7 separate regions of the Homo sapiens genome follow, and all the other regions are linked to region 7. The links are contacts of gene promoters, found by promoter capture Hi-C in blood cells and fetal thymus (Javierre and others, 2016). All regions are on one chromosome and are shown on one strand. Each heading gives the region's core, a stretch centred on a gene start or on the middle of the fragment in contact. The rest is flanking DNA. Distances are from core to core; before and after follow the strand shown. Region 1 overlaps OLR1 (oxidized low density lipoprotein receptor 1). Region 2 has its middle 14 kb from the start of CD69. Region 3 has its middle 3.4 kb from the start of TMEM52B. Region 4 overlaps CLECL1 (C-type lectin like 1). Region 5 has its middle 31 kb from the start of CD69. Region 6 has its middle 5.7 kb from the start of GABARAPL1. Region 7 holds the start of CLEC12A-AS1 (CLEC12A antisense RNA 1).

Evidence for each region. The method cuts DNA at HindIII sites, captures the fragments that hold promoters and counts their contacts. A CHiCAGO score of 5 or more calls a contact.
Region 1: a fragment that was not itself captured here is called in contact with the fragment with the promoter of CLEC12A-AS1 in region 7 in 1 of 17 cell types (neutrophils); the score reaches 5.3 in neutrophils.
Region 2: a fragment that was not itself captured here is called in contact with the fragment with the promoter of CLEC12A-AS1 in region 7 in 3 of 17 cell types (neutrophils, monocytes and activated CD4 T cells); the score reaches 9.6 in neutrophils.
Region 3: a contact is called between a fragment that was not itself captured here and the fragment with the promoter of CLEC12A-AS1 in region 7, in 2 of 17 cell types (monocytes and neutrophils). The highest score is 6.1, in monocytes.
Region 4: a fragment that was not itself captured here is called in contact with the fragment with the promoter of CLEC12A-AS1 in region 7 in 2 of 17 cell types (neutrophils and monocytes); the score reaches 8.2 in neutrophils.
Region 5: a fragment that was not itself captured here is called in contact with the fragment with the promoter of CLEC12A-AS1 in region 7 in 1 of 17 cell types (neutrophils); the score reaches 6.5 in neutrophils.
Region 6: a contact is called between a fragment that was not itself captured here and the fragment with the promoter of CLEC12A-AS1 in region 7, in 2 of 17 cell types (neutrophils and monocytes). The highest score is 8.1, in neutrophils.

The regions. Positions count from the first base shown.
Region 1 is chr12:10,156,779-10,159,478 of GRCh38, reverse strand. OLR1 (oxidized low density lipoprotein receptor 1) reads left to right here. Exons shown (of 6, transcript NM_002543.4): 6 at 1-1,178. Among named protein-coding and RNA genes, the nearest start is that of OLR1, 14 kb to the left of the region's middle. The HindIII fragment of the contact is 1,033 bases long and covers 736-1,768 here.
Region 2 is chr12:9,745,866-9,748,685 of GRCh38, reverse strand. No RefSeq gene overlaps it. Among named protein-coding and RNA genes, the nearest start is that of CD69, 14 kb to the left of the region's middle. The HindIII fragment of the contact is 804 bases long and covers 864-1,667 here.
Region 3 is chr12:10,174,314-10,177,013 of GRCh38, reverse strand. It overlaps a transcript of OLR1 not described here and a transcript of TMEM52B not described here. Among named protein-coding and RNA genes, the nearest start is that of TMEM52B, 3.4 kb to the left of the region's middle. The HindIII fragment of the contact is 761 bases long and covers 959-1,719 here.
Region 4 is chr12:9,729,323-9,732,022 of GRCh38, reverse strand. All of the region lies in intron 1 of CLECL1 (C-type lectin like 1), which reads left to right. Among named protein-coding and RNA genes, the nearest start is that of CLECL1, 2.4 kb to the left of the region's middle. RefSeq lists a silencer at 1,134-1,193. The HindIII fragment of the contact is 1,192 bases long and covers 843-2,034 here.
Region 5 is chr12:9,790,189-9,792,888 of GRCh38, reverse strand. No RefSeq gene overlaps it. Among named protein-coding and RNA genes, the nearest start is that of CD69, 31 kb to the right of the region's middle. The HindIII fragment of the contact is 2,133 bases long and covers 327-2,459 here.
Region 6 is chr12:10,205,692-10,208,631 of GRCh38, reverse strand. No RefSeq gene overlaps it. Among named protein-coding and RNA genes, the nearest start is that of GABARAPL1, 5.7 kb to the left of the region's middle. The HindIII fragment of the contact is 3,050 bases long and covers 24-2,940 here.
Region 7 is chr12:9,951,889-9,954,588 of GRCh38, reverse strand. CLEC12A-AS1 (CLEC12A antisense RNA 1) reads left to right here and starts at 1,252. Exons shown (of 3, transcript NR_135047.1): 1 at 1,252-2,039; 2 at 2,510-2,700. It overlaps LOC124902874 (a long non-coding RNA gene), which reads right to left. Exons shown (of 2, transcript XR_007063207.1): 1 at 1,552-2,700. It also overlaps a transcript of CLEC12A not described here. The HindIII fragment of the contact is 17,088 bases long and covers 1-2,700 here.

The sequences.
Region 1 (2,700 bases), core at 3-2,502, 200 kb before region 7:
GGGAAATATGTCTGGGAAAAAGTGCACGTGAAGAAACAAAGAAGGACAGAGGCCATTCCGAAATCAAGAAACTCATGTTCTTAACTTTAAAAAAGGTATCAATCCTTGGTTTTTAAACTGTGGTCCATCTCCAGACTCTACCACTTACGGACAGACAGACAGACAGACACACACACACACACACACACACATTTTGGGACAAGTGGGGAGCCCAAGAAAGTAATTAGTAAGTGAGTGGTCTTTTCTGTAAGCTAATCCACAACCTGTTACCACTTCCTGAATCAGTTATTATTTCTTCATTTTTTTTTCTACCAGAGGACAGATTAATAGATTTAACCCTTCACAACAGTTCTTGTTAGAATCATGGGATGTGTGGCCCAGAGGTAAGAATAGAATTTCTTTCCCTAAAGAACATACCTTTTGTAGATGAACTCTTCTCAACTCTGTTTTGCTATGCTATAATTCCGAAACATACAAGACAAAAAAAATGAAGACACTCAATCTAGAACAAACTAAGCCAGGTATGCAAATATCGCTGAATAGAAACAGATGGAATTAGAAATATATCTTCTATTTTTAGGCTTCTATTTCCTTTCCACCCACTCTTCACAGGCTATTCTACTTTAAAGGAAGCCTTTTTATTTTGCTGCACACAATCTAGCAGGAATCTTTTTTTTTTTTTAAGAGCTGTGTCATCCTTATGTAGGCAAGAGATGTTTGCTTTTGTTAAAAGCTTTATTGAGATATAATTAACATAAAATAAACTGAACATATTTAAAGTGTACTATTTGATAAGTTTTCACACCTTGTGGAGAACATGCATACTACAATTAAGAGAGTGAACATATCCATCATCCCTCAAAGTGTCACAATGCTCCTCCTGATGACTCCTCCCCAGAAAACCACCAATCGGCTTTCATTTTGCATTTTGTAGTTTTATGTGAATGGAATCATATAGTATGTCTTTTTTTTTTGTCTGGCTTCTTTCACTTTGCATAATTATTTTGAGATTCATATGTCTCCATCTTGATGCTCGTATGAATTCATTCTTTTAAATGTTGAATATTCCCTTGTATGGATATACCACAATTCATTTACCCATTTACTTGTTGATGACATTTGGGTTGTTTTAGTTTTGGGATATTACAAATAAAGCTGCTGTGAACATTTGTGTACAAGTCTGTATGAACATAGGATTTCTTTTCTCTTGGTTAAATACTTAGGAGTATAACGTCTGGATCACACAGTAGGTGTATGATTAACTATTTAGGAAACTGACAAACTCTTTTCCAAAGTTGTACCATTTTTCATTCCTACCAGCAGTGTATGAGTGCTCCAGTTCCATCTCATCCATGCCAGAATTTCATATGGTTCGTCTTATAGTTTTAATGATTCTAGTAGATATCGAATGGTATATCCTCATAGTTTTAATCTGTGTATCCTACAAATTTCTGTTTGTTGGTTTGTTTTTGAGACAGAGTTTCGCTCTTGTTGCTCAGGCTGGAGTTCAGTGGCACAATCTCAGCTCACTGCAACCTCCGCCTCCTGGGTTCAAGCAATTCTCCTGCCTCAGCCTCCCAAGTAGCTGGGATTACCGGCGCCCGCTACCACTTCCAGCTAATTTTTGTATTTTTAGCAGAGACGGGGTTTCACCATGTCGGCCAGACTGTTCTCAGACTCCTGACCTCAGGTGATCCACCCACCTCAGCTTCTGAAAGTGCTGGGATTACAGGCGTGAGCCACCGCCCCAGGCAAATTTTTATAAGCTTATTTACCATCTGTATTAGGTAACTTTGATAAAGTAACTGTATAAATCTTTTGAGAATTTTTACTTGGTTTATTTTTCTTACTGTTGAGTTTGAGAACTTTATATATTTGGGATAAAAACCTTTTATCAGATATGCATCTTGAAATGTTTTTCTTGTCTTGTCTTTTTTTTTTTTTTTTTGAGAGGGAGTCTCACTCTGTTGCCCAGGCTGGAGTAGTGCAATCCCAGCTTACTGCAACTTCCGCCTCCCAGGTTCAAGTGATTCTCCTGCCTCAGCCTCCCAAGTAGCTGGGATTACAGGTGCCCACCACCATGCCTGGCTAAGTTTTTGTATTTTTAGTAGAGATGGGGTTTCACCATGTTGGCCAGGCTGGTTTTGAACTCCTGACCTCAAGTGATCTGCCTGCCTTGGCCTCCCGAAGTACTAGGATTACAGGTGTGAGCCACCGCCCAGCCTGTCTTTTCATTCTTTGAACAATATACTCATAAAGCAGAAGTTTTTTATTTTAATGAAGTCCATTTTTATTATTCTGCTGTGGTTTGTAAGAACTCATTGACTAACTCAAGGTCACAAAAATTTTCTCCTTTATTTTTTTCTAGACATTTTATAGCTTCAGGTTTTATACTGAGGTCTATGATTTATTTGGGATTAATTCGACAAATGTAAATTTGTCGAAAAGACTATTTTTCTTTACTAAATTGCTTTTGCACCTTTATCACCAATCAGTTGTCTGTATATTCATGGGATTATTTCTAAACTCTCTATTTTATTCCACTGATTGTTGTATTTTTGTATTTGCGTATTTATACACCACCACCACATTATTTTGAATACTGTAGTTTTATAATAAATCTTAAAATCATGCAGTGACAGTCCTTCAAATTTATTTTTCTTTTGCAAAGTTACATTGGCTGAGCTATGTCACTATATT
Region 2 (2,820 bases), core at 16-2,515, 210 kb after region 7:
TGGTGATTGATATGGTAATTAGCTTGACTGAATCATTCCACATTGTGTACAAATAACACTACATTATACCCCACAAATAGATACAATTATAATTTGTCAATTTACAATAAATTTTTAAAATATATCTTGGTTATTTTTTACACTCAAGTGGCTTGTGTGTGTGTGGATGATGATTCTTGGTTTCTTTTGTGGAAAGATGTGGCAGTCACCACTCTCTCAACACTACATTTTGTATTTTTTCTAGTTATAAAGGAAATGGCATAATCTAGAAAAGTAAAACTTAACCTTTGATAATGCTGCACCCCATTCATATTTCTCAATATTTGTAATGCCAAATTTAAAATGTAATTAAAATAATGCATGTAAAAGTGTTTCGTCTATGCTAAAGAACTACATTACCATAAGTTGACTTGCTTCCAAATTTCTAGGTTCTGAGACCTGAAGTTCACATTATTTTCTCCTTATTTTACATATACTTACCAATAACTTGAAACCAACAAACAAAAATCTGCACATTATAAACTTAAAATTACAGATTTCTAGTTTTCAAAAGACATCATGGACAGAATGACAAGTCGTCACAGAGTGGAAGACATTCTAACACGTATAATTGATAAAGGAATCTGTCTCTCCCCACCCCCATCATCTATCTATCTATCTATCTATCTATCTATCTATCTATCTATCTATCAATCATCTATCTATCTATCTATCATCTATCATGTACCTAGACAACAAATCAATAATACAATGACTGTTGATCTTAAGAAGCTAAGAGAGGCTCTCAGTCCTCAGCCAAGAAGAAAAGGAAACTTCAGCACTATAGTCGAATAAACTGGTTTTGCTAACAACCTGAAGAAGCTTTGTATTACACTTTTTTTGCATTGCTATAAAGAATTCCCTGTCCAGGTGCAGTGTATCATGCCTGTTATCCCAGGACTTTGGGAGGCCGAGGTGGGTGGATCCCTTGAGCTCAGGAGTTCGAGACCAGCCTGGACAACATGATGAAACCCAGTCTCTACTAAAAATACAAAAATTAGCCGGGCATGGTGGCATGTGCCTATCATCCCAGATACATAGGAGTTTGAGGTGGAAGGACCACCTGAGCCTGGGAGGTAGAGGTTGCAGTGGACTGGGATTGCCACTGCACTAGAGCCAGGGCAACAGAGTGAGGATGCTGTAAAAAAGAAGAAAGAAAGAAAAAGAAGGAAGAGAAGGAAGGAAGGAAGGAAGGAAGGAAGGAAGGAAGGAAGGAAGGAAGGAAGGAAAGGAGGGAGGCAGGGAAAAAAGGAGGAAGAAAGGGAGGGAAGGAAGGAAGACCTGAGGATGGGTAATTCATAAAGAAAAGAGGTTTAATTGGTTCATGGTTCTGCAGGCTGCACAGTCATGACTCTAGCACTTGCTCTTGGTGAGGCCTCAGGAACCTTACAATTATGGCAATGCGGAGCCACCATGTGAAGAGAGCCGGGGGGAAAGTGCCACATGCTCTCACCAGATCTTGCCTGAACTCACAGTGAGATCTCATTTATTACCAAGGGGATAGCACTAAGCCATCATGAGGGATCTTCCCCATGATCCAAAGACATCCCCCAAGGCTCCTCTCCAACACTGGGATTACATTTCAACATGAGATTTGGAGAGGACAAACATCCAAACTATTTCAAGCTTAAAAGCAGATTTTTCCCCAGAGCTTCCAGAAAACAACCAGGTCCTCGAATTTGGCCTTATAGGACCCTAAACAGAAAACCAACTGTGCCTGGACTTCTGAGCTATAGAAACCGCAAGATAATCATGTGCCGTTTTAAGCTGCTAAATTTGTGGTAATTTGTTACAGCAGCAATATAAAAAAATAGTATCTTTAAAAATTTTTATTTTCAGTTTGTTTCTGAGAAACAGAAATACAATTGATTCTTTTATATTGAATTTGTATCCAGCTGCCTTATAAACTCCTTTATTACTTCTAATAATTTATCGATAGATTTTCTTGGATTTTCTATAAACAGAATCATATCCATGGTAAATGTGTGCTGTATTTTTCTTTCCAAAGTTTTATAACCTAAAAATCATATTGTATCTGTTAACATCGTGAACAATGATGTTAAGTGGAAATGATAACAGTGAGTACCTTGTCTTGTTCCCAATGTCAAAGGCAAAGTTTTTAATATGCTACCATTAACTGTAATGTTTGTTCTAGCTTTGTTTACTTGTTAGGTTGACTGGTTGTTTTGGGGGGAGATGCTGAGAATAGATATTATTAGATTAAGAATTATTTCTTCTGTGAAATTAATTTTAGTTACTGTGGATTTTAGTTCTAGAGTTTCCATCTTCTCCTTTTTCAAACTTTCCAAGTTTCAGTCCAAATTCTAATATATTCATTTTATTTCCAGGAGTTCATTTTAAATATATTAGTATTTTAAAAATATTTTATGTTGTTACATTTTAAATACTATATAGGTATGTAAATTTAAGAAATGATTTATTTAAAATTTAAATATGTATTGACTTAAATCTGATTTTTTGAAATAATATTTGAACATGCTTACTTTAAAGTCTGTGTGTGATACTGCATTTTCTAGAGCCCTTGGAATTTCTTAACCACTGCCTGTTATTTCTATTTGTAACTTTTAATGTCATCTTTTCTATTTATGTACCCAGTTATTTATTTCGTGTTGTTGTTGAGTGCTGGACTTTTGTCTTAAAAAAAAGAAAAAAAGAAAAAAACTGAGGCTAGGCACAGTGGCTCACACCTGTAATCCCAGCACTTTGGGAGGCCGAGTCAGGCGGATCACCTGAGATCAGGAGTTCAAGACCAGCCTTGCC
Region 3 (2,700 bases), core at 90-2,589, 220 kb before region 7:
AGCATTTTGAATAGGATATTTCTATCATGAGTGCCCTGTACGTAGGGAACCCATCATGAAACTTTCCCTTCTCTTTTTCTTGACAGAAAGACAGTAGAGCACCAAGACCTAAAGCCTAGCCAGGATACCTGGGTTTAAATACTTGGTTTTGTCACTTATGAGCTGTGTGATCTTGGAGCAGGTTATTAGACCTCTATTGGCTCATTTTCATTTTATATAAAATGGGGGTAATAGTAGTAATATTTACTTGATAGCCTTATACAGATTAAATAAGTTAATGTGTGTAAAATGAATATAACAGTCCTGATATTTTTTGTGTTTGCTAAGATTATTTTGATTTTCACTAAAGTTTACCAGTGACCTTTACTTTCAAGATTCTGGATAATTACTGTCCTTTATGCTTCTCTTGTATATTTTTATACCATTCCCTCTCCAGACCACATTTTAGTCTCCTGATATTCTAATTCTTGAATATTTTTCCTTGCTAGCCTGGCCACCTTTTCTCCCAACCACGCCAGCCTTCACCTGCCTAAACAGGTTTGCTGGTTAACATGACTCCCCGCTCGCATTGCACTTTTCTAACACGTAATTGCCATCATCTTTTTGCCCTCCAGCTTCCAAACAGGTTTGAACAAAATAGGTTCTGTTAATGACCTCCTTGTGACTTTCCTTTCTTAGAATTATTACTACCCTTTTTTTTTTTCTCACCAGATTAGTCCCTGGAAAGATAAAAGTTTGTTTTTATCCTAATGAATGAGATTATGCCTTGGGGCAGCTTTAACTCTGAATCCTGTCCCTAACCAAGCCTCCATATAGGGAATGATGAAAGAAGAAAGATAATTCAGACAAGAAGACTGAACGAAGTACACTTTGGACAGGTACAGAAGGGCAGGTAGCTGGGATAGAGGGAAATGGTCTCATTACAATCCTATACAATCTTGTGCAGTTCCATTAAGCTTGTGAATCATTAGCTTATGTCCAGGTAGTTAAGGACTTGGAGTGGAACCAGTAGAGGGTGCATGTACATAGAGTTTTACACCTATGCTTCAGGGAATTGTTATACAACTGGTGTAACAAGTGTAGCCAAACAAATTGCTTACTTCTGGTTCCACTGATCATTCTCCTTTTGACCTTGCCTAAGTCAGGTGGCCAACTATGGATTTCTTTCCTCTCTGTGCCTCAATAAAATAGAGGCCAGGACTCTGAGGCATCAACCTCAAACTATAAGTCAGTGGGTAGGGCCACAGCCCTGATTTCAAAAATAAATAATATAGCAGAAGAAGTTTCATCTTTGCAACCCTTGGGAGATCCCTTGGGAAGTGTTTCTGTCTGATAAGCCAAGATCACAGCATAGGGATTGAGTGACAGCTTCAAAGGCACTGAAATCAGTAAAAAGATTAGAGTTAAAAAAGTTAAACAAGACAGAAGGATTCAGTTTATCATAGAATGTTTTAGGTTGATATGCTGTGTAACACATCACCACAAATTATGTGAGCAGCAAGGTAAAACAATGTACTTTTATTATTTCAAAGTATCTGTGAGTCAGAAGTGTGGGCACAACTTAGTTGGGTCCTCTGCTTGATGTCTCACAAGGCTGCAGTCAAGGTGGCTGCTGGGTTGCACTCTCATCATGCATTCTCAGGTGAGCCTGGGAAGATTCACTTGCAAGCTCCCTCAGGCAGAATTTATTTCTCTATGGCTGCAGGATCCATTTAAGCTTGCTTTTAAAAATCTAGACAGGGAGATAAAGATGGAAATAGGAGAGGGAGAGTGACTTTAGCATAATAGTCACTATACCTTACATAAGCACACGTAGATGATCACATACATTCCAGCACCTCTGCTACACTCCAAGTCATAGGTCTCACTCACACTCAAGGGGAAGGATTACACAAGATCATGAACACCAGGAGGCAGGAATAATGAGAGCCCTCTAAAATTTTTCAAATCTGTCCAGTTATCTGCCACACAAGGACTGTAGAAACTATCCCACTGATCTTTAAAAACAGGATAAACCCAAACGTCCATCAATGGATAAATAAAATGTAGAATGTGGTTTATACATACAATGGAATATTATACAGACTTTAAAAGGAACAAAATTCTGACACATGCTACCACATTGATAATTGTTGAAGACATAATGCTAAATAAAATAATTTAGATACAAAAGGACAAATATTATATGATTCCACCAGTATGAGGTGCCTAAAATAAACCAATTTATAGAAACAAAAAAATGGAACGGTGGTTTCCAAGAAAGGAGAAAGGAATTGGGATTTGTATTAGGTCTGTGCAGAGAAAGAGGATCAATACGCTGTGTACATACATAGAAATAGGTTTATTATAAGGAATTGGCTTGTATGATTATAGAGCCTGGTAATTTAAAATCTGGAGTGTGGGCTGCCAGACTCGGCCAGCGAGTGGAGAACTGGGAGAGTTGATGGCTGAGTTCCAGTCCATAGACAGCTGGGGGATTCTTTCTTATTTGGGGGAAGGTTAGAAGCTTTTTGTTCTTTAGGCCTTCAACTTTTGGATGAGGCCCACCTACATTATGCAGCGAAATCTACTTTCCTCTTCTGATTAATATGTTAATCTCATTTAAAAGCATCCTGTCTGGGAACCCCATGACCCAGTCAAGAAGACACAGAAGGCCAGCACGGTGGCTCACGCTTGTAATCCCAGCACTGTGGGAGGCTG
Region 4 (2,700 bases), core at 189-2,688, 220 kb after region 7:
TTCTTTTCTTCCAGCTTAGGCACTTTCACTTCCTATGAAATAGTGAAACATAATTTGAAAAATAACATGGACTAGAACTGCACTGTCATTCCCCTATGCTTCAAAAATGTCCTGTAGTTAGTTTCTTTTTCTAGAGGTTATTTTACTCAGTTTAAGCAACAAAACCAATATTTTTGATTCCGCATTCCAGGGTTTAATTGCCTTTCTGTCTATGGTTTGAACTTTTATAAATAAAACCTTATTCTTTTCCCAGTTTAGGGATGTGGGGCAACATCTTTTAATGTGATCTAGTTCAATCTTAGAATGCTAAAAATGAGAAAACGAACTATATGAAGATTAAATTACCTACCTATAGTCATGCTTATGACCAGAAGTCAAATATCATATTGTTCTTGTGCTGTATACGTGTGGTGTTAGATAAACGCAACTTTTGTTCTCATGCGTCACTTCGCCATCAAGCGAAAGAGCTGTTGGATAGATTAGATTTTTGTTGTCTTACATACAGAGTCCTACACAATTGTTCCTGATCTCTTCTAACCTCATACCTTTCACTGATTTTGCTCTGGCTATTGGCCTTTTCTTTTCTCCTAAAGGTTGTCATATTCCTTACCATTTCAGAGCCTCATAAAATGCTGAATCTTTCTACATAATCTATTAATCTTTGTGTTTCTAGCACCTCACACCGTACTAAATATAGAGCAGGAAATTAATAGATGCTTGATAAGTAAAATAATTTATAAATGGCTGAATAAATAAATGAATCGCATTAGACGATGAATGTATATATGTATGCTCATTGGTTCTCCAAGATGTAAAGCATAAAGGAATGTCATCAGGAAGCTTAGCAGGACATCAGTGAGAGTGTGTGTTTGAACTGAGAATATCCCAGAAATTTATGCTTTGCTTAAATCTTACTTAGGAGGCCTAAAAGAATGATCAATATCTTTTATGTTAGTCTTTTTATGAAATCTGAAATTTTATTCTACTAAACTTAGGGATCCATAATTTCAGTTCGTCATATTAGTAACATGTGTAGTGGCCAGGCACAATGGCTGACGCCTGTAATCCCAACACTTTGGGATGCCGAGGAAGGAGGATCGCTTGAGCCCATGAGATTGGTACCAGCCTGGACAACACAGAGAGACCTCATGCCTACCAAAAATTTTAAAAACGAGCATGGTGACACGTGCCTGTATTCACAGCTACTCAGGAGGCTGAGGCAGTAAGATTGCTTGAACCTGGGAGGTGGAGGTTGCAGTGAGCAGTGATCATGCCACTGCACTCTAGCCTGGGCAACAGAACAAAAGCCTATCCAAAAAAAAAAGAAAAGAAAAAAAGAAAGAAAAAGAAACGTGTAGTGACATCACCACATTCTTTCTGTGACTGACTTGACTCCCACAATTTTGACTGTTTTGTCTGATGAGTGAAAATATGTGGACTTCTTTTAATGTTTTGAAAATTAACAAATTCCTATTAAAGATGTTTTAATTAATAGCAATAATAATCAGCACATAAAACAATGCACTCAATAATAATCTACCAAATAAACATTCCATTTAGTCTTGATATGATTATATTTCAATATCAGCTATTTTCAGTACTTTCTCAGTGTATTGTGTGTTTAGGTCACATATCTAGTGGAAACAATGTACTGTAACTTTTATGTACCAGAGACTGTTGTTTTAAACTTTCAGCCTAAAGCTAAAAGTACAACTTCTTTTATTTGGTTTATTTATTATCTTTTGAGTACTTCAAATGCAATGAGAAGTGTGGATACCGAAGGCAGCACTAGTCTGGTAGTCAAGAGACCTGAGGTTAGATATCAGCTCTGCTCTCAAGTAACTGTGTGACTGTGAACTTGAATATCCCCATTTTAACACGTGGGTATTGCGTTAAAATAATCTCTAACATTTCTTTTATGTTTAAATGTATGGTTTTATGGAATTACAATGCTATATCACAGGAAATGGATACATTATATAAGAGGAGAAACAGAAAAGATCAGCTCAAATAAATGGGTGTTGTCAATAAGCTTATTAGAGAATCTTGAGGGTTTCACAGTCTTATATAAAAACCCAGAGACACAGACAGTGATCATAAGTAAGATCAATACTGGGGAATATAAACAGTGAAACCAAAAGGAAAAATTCATATTTATTCAAACCAGAGAATACTCGCATATGTGTGTTTTGTGTGGAAAAAAAAAAAGAAGCTGGGTCTACATATTTCGAAGGAAAGTAACTCAGGAACATGATAGGTGAGAAAGTTTATTTGGCCCTCTCCTACCTCTCACCATCTAAGGAGCTACCTGCTGGGTTTACTAGTGAAATCTATTCAATTTTGTAGATTCTCACCACCATGGAATTGTTCTTAACGTTGGATGTGCAATAATATTATCCTTCTGGTAATAGTAATTGTACTGAATATTTTGGGTAAGTAATTAGTAATATTATTTATTCATCTCAGGGTATTATTTTTCTCCTAACTTGTTGTAACTGTGTTTGCTATTTAAATGGTTCCTAAACAATATGGTACAACTTCACAAAAAGTGTAAAATTTGATACACAACTAAAATTAGAGATTTTCTATAGAATTTCACCATGTGATAAAATATACATTATAAATTCATCTCAATGATAAAGAAAAGAGATGGCAAGATTAGTTGCTTATTTTATGATCAAGATCATGCAGTGAATTGCC
Region 5 (2,700 bases), core at 144-2,643, 160 kb after region 7:
TGTTACAGGTCAGGTTCCTCAAAAACAGACTCTCAGATGAAGGATTACATAAAGGATGTTAAGTACCTGTGGATGAGAAAGAAAGGATTGGGCAAAGGCAGATATTGAATTGTGATGCAGTAACACAAAGGCTTCAGCTAACAGTATAGGGAGCTCTGGAGGTGAGTGCCCTTTCAAGTTTATCTTGATATAAGGCAACAAGTCCAAGCTTTTATACTCCCACACGAACCAGCCGTTTGATACATCTGGCACTGGGAGAAAGTGTGACTTTGAGAAGGCACTTCTGTTTAGCTGAGAGCCATACAAGGAAGATTCAGTTGAAAGCTTCTGACTCCCAGGTGCTGAGACAATGAGGCTTCAGTCCAAAGTGGAGACACACCATTGCACCCATTGTAAATGGAAAACCAGTTTTTAAATCAAAAGATAAGGAAGACATATATATATATATACACACACACACACACATATATATACATATATACACACATATATGCAGATAGATAGATAGATAGATGGATAGATAGATAGATAGATAGATAGATAGATAGATAGATAGATAAATTTTCCTGATCAGACTCCTTTGCTTAGGGCTAGCAGCATATATCCAAAAGTCCATTAAAATATCCAACTCAATCTCCCACATATTCCAGAAACAAAAGTGATCATTTTGATTCTTTTCTAAATCTAATTTTACCCCCTAATTTCTGACTCATTTGAAAGAATACTGCCCACAGTTTTAGGAATCAAAGCATGAAGGCCATCCTTGACTCTCTGTCTGCATTTTTTTCTGATTAAATGACCCTACCTAATAAATCATAGACTGTAATGACTAGTAATGTCTTTAATTCAACAACTTTCCATCATCTCTACTTCCACTGCATTGGTCTTAAAGGCAGTCATCTCTCTATGGTATCCCTTTATTCCAGTTCATCTTGCACCTGTTAGACTGAGTAACTTCCAAAAATTGCACCTGTTAACTTCCAAAAATTAATATCTAATTGCAATTTGTCCCAAATTTATAAGAATTTATTACTTTCTTTCTGCACTTAGAATAATTCCAGACTATTTAACAGCATTGATTTCACCCTGTAATCTGGCTTTGTCTCTTGTTCCATTCTTCAGTCTCACTGTAGTGGACCATTCTTTCTCCCATCTCTAAGACTTGTACATTTTACCCTTGTCTACAAAGTTGTTGTTGTTGTTGTTTTTCCTCTGCCTTATTCACCTGGAAAACTGTCTCATCTTTCACTTCTCAGATTAAATATTTACATAATTTTATAGAATGCCACCTTGAGAATAAATTCTCCAAGATGTGTTCTACATGCCCTCATAATTACCTGCTTAATTGTCTTGCCAGACATGAGCAGAAACAGTGGAATAAAGACCTACAAAAAGCTATTCCTTCATAAAATCAACAAGAACATTGACAAAAACTGTCAAAACAAACTTCCTCAGAATACTGTGAATTAACCAAAGACTTGCAAAAATCTGGCAAGCATTTACTCAAGAAAATAGGTGAATTTAATTGAAAACAGTGACCTTTGTGGAGATTTAACTTGCTCTATTCCTATTCCGTATTCCTCAGCTTCACAGTAGCCTTGAAAAACTATAGTAGGTCTTACAACTATAGTAGCAGTAGTGAACTGTAGCCCAACAGGTCTCAGAGGGGCCATAAAGGGTTTAGAAGTCCCAAAAATTATTCTTAGAGTACTGTCATTATTCAAACTATCAAACATGATCTTGGAAATTCCCACCTACGACTTTAGTTGATCTCAAACAGAGCTCGCTCAGTGCAAATGACTTTTTCCCTAGGGGTATTTGACAAAAACAATCAGCACCTATTGCTGTACATTGCAGCTGCTTAATATGGAATAACAGCTGGGGCAAAGGAAAAGCTGACCAAAAAACTTAAGAGGGAAACTTAAGGGATGGGCTGCCTATAGTAGTTCATTGAAATGATACAAAATATTGATACAGCTTCAATGAATGGAGGAACACCAGAGTCCTTTGTCTCACGCCAATTTAGATAAGACAACATGGACACACATGGAGTGGTTTTAAGGAACAGAGAGTTTAATAGGCAAGAAAGAAAGAAGAAGCTCCCAGCTACAGAGACGGGGGGTCGGTGAGGGGTGGGGGTGGCTCCAAGCAGAGAGAGGAAACCCCAAGTATGGTGGAAACAATCTGTTATATTAGAAGGCTGGAGGAGGTGGTGTCTGATTTTTATAGGCCCAGGGGATTGGTTTGACTTAGTATGTCATTCACATAGCCTGCAAAAAAACTGGCTCTCCCACCCTAGTCTTTTAATATGCAAATGCAGGCCGCCATGATTTTCTGCACAGTGGAGACCTCTGGGGGTGCCATGATGCTTGGCACATGTGGTGACAAGGAGAAGAAGGTGGGACTTGCCATATTGGATGGACCCAGCTTCTAATAGCCAGCATTTGCATATCAAAGCTTGCTGGCTTGGCCCTTCAAGCCATTTTTTTGCTAAAAAAGAAATGTTTCTGGAGCTGCTTTTATTTAAAGAAAAAAACCTTACCAAGGACCACTTATCCTATCTGCCTGAAATAATTTCTTAATAATTTCTATAATAATATGATCATCAATATCATGAAAATGACCACACTGCCCAAAGCAATCTACTGATTCAATGCAATTCCCATGAAAATATCAACATCATTTTTCACAGAACTACAG
Region 6 (2,940 bases), core at 299-2,798, 250 kb before region 7:
TTTCTAAATTTGCTTGCTAAGCTTGGAATTTAAACAAGGGATTTTATTACTTAATTTGAATTTTTAAATAAGCTGCCATCCACAGATCAAGTGTCAAATACCACCACGATGTGCCTGGCTGACTCCAAGACTAGGAAAATATTTCCTGCCCCTGAACTATACATGAGTGGGTTTTCCTCCTTAATAATTTGTGTGCTTACATTGCTTCATTGCAGCTGCCACTACCTTAGTTTAATCTTCATTTTTTAAAAATTTTGGCTTCGTTCTAATGATCTGTTGCTATATAGCAAACCACCTCAAAGGAATGGCTTAAGATAATAGCATCATCTATTTTGCTCACAAATCTGAAGTAATGGGGCTCAGCTTTGGTTTTAATTAGTGACTGGTGATAGGATCTTCTTGGAAGGCTTCTTCACTAGCAGTTTTGGTAGTTGGACTGGGAAGACTCAAACAATTGGCGCTCCTCAGCCACCTCTTCCTTTCTCTATAGGATCTCACCATGGGTCTCTTCCCATAGTGGCTGCAGGCTAGCTAAACTTCTTTCATGGTACCTATGGGCTCTCTGGGCAAATTTGCCAAAAGAAGTCAGCAGAAAGCACATGGCCTCTTGTAATCTAGTCATTTTAATTTGAAAGGGACACTTCTGCCTCATTCTGTTTCTCAGAGCAGTCACAAAGTTCTGCTCAGATTCAAAGGAAGGTGCCACAGACTCCACTTCTACCTGGAGGAAGTATTGGAGAATCTGAGAATATGCTTCAAAATCACCACTATTGGGCCAGGCGCGGTGGCTCACGCCTGTAACCCCAGCACTTTGGGAGGCCAAGGCGGGCAGATCACCTGAGGTCGGGAGTTTGAGACTAGCCTGACCAACATGGAGAAACCCCGTCTCTACTAAGAATACAAAATTAGCTGGGCGTGGTGGTGCATGCCTGTAATCCAAGCTACTCAGAAGGCTGAGGCAGGAGAATCACTTGAACCCGGGAGGCAGAGGGTGCAGTGAGCCAAGATCGCGGCATTGCACTCCAGCCTGGGCAACAAGAGTGAAACTCCACCTCAAAATAACAAACAAACAAACAAACAAAACATTATTACTCAAACACATTAGTAAATAGTGTTCAGTCTTGTCTTTCCCACTTCTAGGAAAAAGAGAGCTCACTGATGCCAGACTAAATGTAATAAAGCTATATTTCATTGTGTCATTTCTCTTCTTAATATCATTCAGTGGTCAGCATTCTCTGTAATCTTTGGGAGACAGTTCAAATTCTTTACAACGGAAATAGAGTACTTACAATCAGGCTGTTGTTTCTCTCTTGAGGCTCATATATAGCCATTTCCTATCATTGTACTCTATGGTTCAGGCATACTAAATTATTTTCCCTATATTGGTATTGTTTCAGACCACTGGATATTCAAAGCCTCCTTCCTGTGAAAACGTTTTCTCCCTTTTTTTTTCTGACTAGTTTCTATAAAACATTCAGGGTTTAGTTCAGGCATCATCTTCTCTAGGAAACCTTTTGATCTCCTTTGCCTGAGTTCTGTATTCCTTCTAGGCACTTGCAAAGTATTGTGTGCTTATCTTTGCCATAGCACTGATAATGATGCATTGTTCATTAGATAAGATGATGCTGGCTGGGTGTGGTGGCTCACACCTGTAATCCCAGCACTTTGGGAGGCTGAGGTGGGCAGATCACCTGAGGTCAGGAGTTCAAGACCAGTATAGCTAATATGCTGAAACCTTGTTTCTACTAAAAATACAAAAAGTTAGCCAGGCGTAGTGGCTCGCGCCTATAATCCCAGTTACTTGAGAGGCTGAGATAGGATAATTGCTTGAACTGGGAGGTGGAGGTTGCAGTGAGCCGAGATCGTGCCATTGAACTCCAGCTTGGGCAACAAGAGCAAAACTACGTCTCAAACAAACAAACAAACGAACAAAAAACATGATGCCCATTACATGTCCTTTTTTTTTTCGGGTGGGGGGTGCGGGGGGGGATATATGTATGGTTTCAGAAGTAACTACTCTTTTTACATTGACACCGCATGGTTCTAGTGGAACTCACCAATCATAAAATCTCATTGCCTTGGCCATAAGATTAATCAGAATTTTTCCTTAGAATTTCTTACATATGAACTAAAGGAAAGGAGCCCCTTCTTCTTTGATGACGAAGTTTAGATGATGTCTTAGTCCATTCCAGCTGCTATAACAAAATACCATAGACTGGGTGGCTTATAAACAACAGAGATTCATTTCTCACAGTTCAGGAGACTGGGAAGTCCGAGATCAAGGTGCCAGCTGATTAACTATCTGGTGAGGGCCTGCTTCCTCATAGACAGCTGCCTTCTCACTCCAACCTCACATAGCAGAAGGAAAGAAAGAGGGTTCTGTCTCAGGCCTCTTTTATAACGGCACTAATCCATTTATGAGGGTTCCATTCTCATGACTTAATCACCTACCAAAGGCCTCACCTCCTAATAACATCATCTTATGGGTTAGGATTTCAGTGTACAAATTTGGCGAGGAAACACACGTTCAGACCATAGTGGATGCTATGAGATCAGGGGCTGCTATCGTTTTGGTCTCAAGCAGTCACCAGATAAATGAGATAAAGATAACACTCAGAGAGGCAAGTTATATGATAGGGATAGAGAGACATAGAAATATATACAGAGTTTGGGGGAGTTCTAAGGGCATTCAGGTCCCTAGTTTCAGATAGCCCGTTCCAGTAGTGAGAGATAGTTTATTTTCTTATTTTCTGTATATTATGGTGTTTTTACATTAAAAAAAAAATTCTGGCTGGGGAGAGACTGTCTTTACCAGACCTAACCAGTTCTTAGAGATAGCAAGGGCTCAGCTGAGAACCTGCCTTTCATATGCAAACTCACCAATCTAGAGCCATACCTCCTATATCCAACCTGTATATTCCAGGGGGCAACATTTCTCTG
Region 7 (2,700 bases), core at 3-2,502:
TTGAACTTTATTTGTTCTGATAGGTAATCCAATAAAGGTTGTGAAACAAAATTTTGAATAAAGCAGTTTCCATGATAGTTTGATTATTTTTTTTTTTGAGACAGGATCTCCGTCACCCAGGCTGGAAGTGCAGTGGTGTGATCAAGGCTCACTGCAGCCTCAACCTCCCAGGCTCAGGTAATCCTCCCACCTCAGCCTCCTGAGTAGCTGGGACTACAGGTATGCACCATTACACCCAGCTAATATTTGTATTTTTTGTAGAGACAGGGTTTCACCATGTTGCCCAGGCTGGTCTCGAACTCCTGGGCTCAAGTATCTGCCCACCTCAGTTTCTTGCGCCCAGCTGACAGTTTGATTTTTTTTTTTTTTTTTTTTTTTTTTTTATTGATAATTCTTGGGTGTTTCTCACAGAGGGGATTTGGCAGGGTCATGGGACAATAGTGGAGGGAAGGTCAGCAGATAAACAAGTGAACAAAGGTCTCTGGTTTTCCTAGGCAGAGGACCCTGCGGCCTTCCGCAGTGTTTGTGTCCCTGATTACTTGAGATTAGGGATTGGTGATGACTCTTAACGAGCATGCTGCCTTCAAGCATCTGTTTAACAAAGCACATCTTGCACCGCCCTTAATCCATTTAACCCTGAGTGGACACAGCACATGTTTCAGAGAGCACAGGGTTGGGGGTAAGGTCACAGATCAACAGGATCCCAAGGCAGAAGAATCTTTCTTAGTGCAGAACAAAATGAAAAGTCTCCCATGTCTACTTCTTTCTACACAGACACGGCAACCATCCCATTTCTCAATCTTTTCCCCACCTTTCCCGCCTTTCTATTCCACAAAGCCGCCATTGTCATCCTGGCCCGTTCTCAATGAGCTGCTGGGCACACCTCCCAGACGGGGTGGTGGCCGGGCAGAGGGGCTCCTCACTTCCCAGTAGGGGCGGCCGGGCAGAGGCGCCCCTCACCTCCCGGACGGGGCGGCTGGCCGGGCAGGGGGCTGACCCCCCCACCTCCCTCCCGGACGGGGCGGCTGGCCAGGCAGAGGGGCTCCTCACTTCCCAGTAGGGGGCGGCCGGGCAGAGGCGCCCCTCACCTCCCGGACGGGGCGGCTGGCTGGGCGGGGGGGCTGACCCCCCCCACCTCCCTCCCGGACGGGGCGGCTGGCCAGGCGGGGGGCTGACCCCCCCACCTCCCTCCCGGACGGGGCGGCTGGCCAGGCGGGGGGCTGACCCCCCCACCTCCCTCCCGGACGGGGCAGCTGGCTGGGCGGGGGGGCTGACCCCCCATCTCCGTCCCAGACGGGGTGGCTGGCCGGGCTGAGGGGCTCCTCACTTCCCAGTAGGGGGGGGCGGGCAGAGGCGCCCCTCACCTCCTGGACGGGGCGGCTGGCCGGGCAGGGGGCTGACCCCCCCACCTCCCTCCCGGACGGCATGGCTGGCCAGGCGGGGGGCTGACCCCCCACCTCCCTCCCGGATGGGGCGGCTGGCCGGGCGGAGGGCTAACCCCCCCCACCTCCCTCCCGGACGGGGTGGCTGCTGGGCGGAGACGCTCCTCACTTCCCAGATGGGGTGGCTGCCGGGCGGAGAGGCTCCTCACTTCTCAGACGGGGCGGCTGCCGGGCGGAGGGGCTCCTCACTTCTCAGACGGGGTGGTTGCCAGGCAGAGGGTCTCCTCACTTCTCAGACGGGGCGGCCGGGCAGAGACGCTCCTCACCTCCCAGACGGGGTCTCGGCCGGGCAGAGGCGCTCCTCACATCCCAGATGGGGCGGCGGGGCAGAGGCGCTCCCCACATCTCAGACGATGGGCGGCCGGGCAGAGACGCTCCTCACTTCCTAGATGTGATGGCGGCTGGGAAGAGGCGCTCCTCACTTCCTAGATGGGATGGCGGCCGGGCGGAGACGCTCCTCACTTTCCAGACTGGGCAGCCAGGCAGAGGGGCTCCTCACATCCCAGACGATGGGTGGCCAGGCGGAGACACTCCTCACTTCCCAGACGGGGTGGCGGCCGGGCAGAGGCTGCAATCTCGGCACTTTGGGAGGCCAAGGCAGGTTGCTGGGAGGTGTAGGTTGTAGTGAGCCGAGATCACGCCACTGCACTCCAGCCTGGGCACCATTGAGCACTGAGTGAACGAGACTCCGTCTGCAATCCCGGCACCTCGGGAGGCCAAGGCTGGCGGATCACTCGCGGTTAGGGGCTGGAGACCGGCCCGGCCAACACAGCGAAACCCCGTCTCCACCAAAACCAGTCAGGCGTGGTGGTGCGTGCCTGCAATCGCAGGCACTCGGCAGGCTGAGGCAGGAGAATCAGGCAGGGAGGTTGCAGTGAGCCGAGATGGCAGCAGTACAGTCCAGCTTCGGCTCCACATGAGAGGGAGACCGTGGGGAGAGGGAGAGGGAGACGGAGAGGGAGAGGGAGAGGGAGACGGAGAGGGAGAGGGAGAGGGAGACGGAGAGGGAGAGGGAGAGGGAGAGGGAGAGCGCTCACATCCTGTTTTTTTTTTTTTCCTTGAGACAGGGTCTGACAGTTTGATTTTTAAAGGCCAAATCTCTCCAGACTCCAAAGAACTCTGTAGCCAAACAGCAGCACATACTAATCAGGCCTGCCTGTCCTTAGAGCAGCAGCATAGAAGCCTGGAGACATGGACTTCCATCCCATATTCACATTCAACAGCAAAATAAATCCAAATATAAGGCAGTGCTACAATT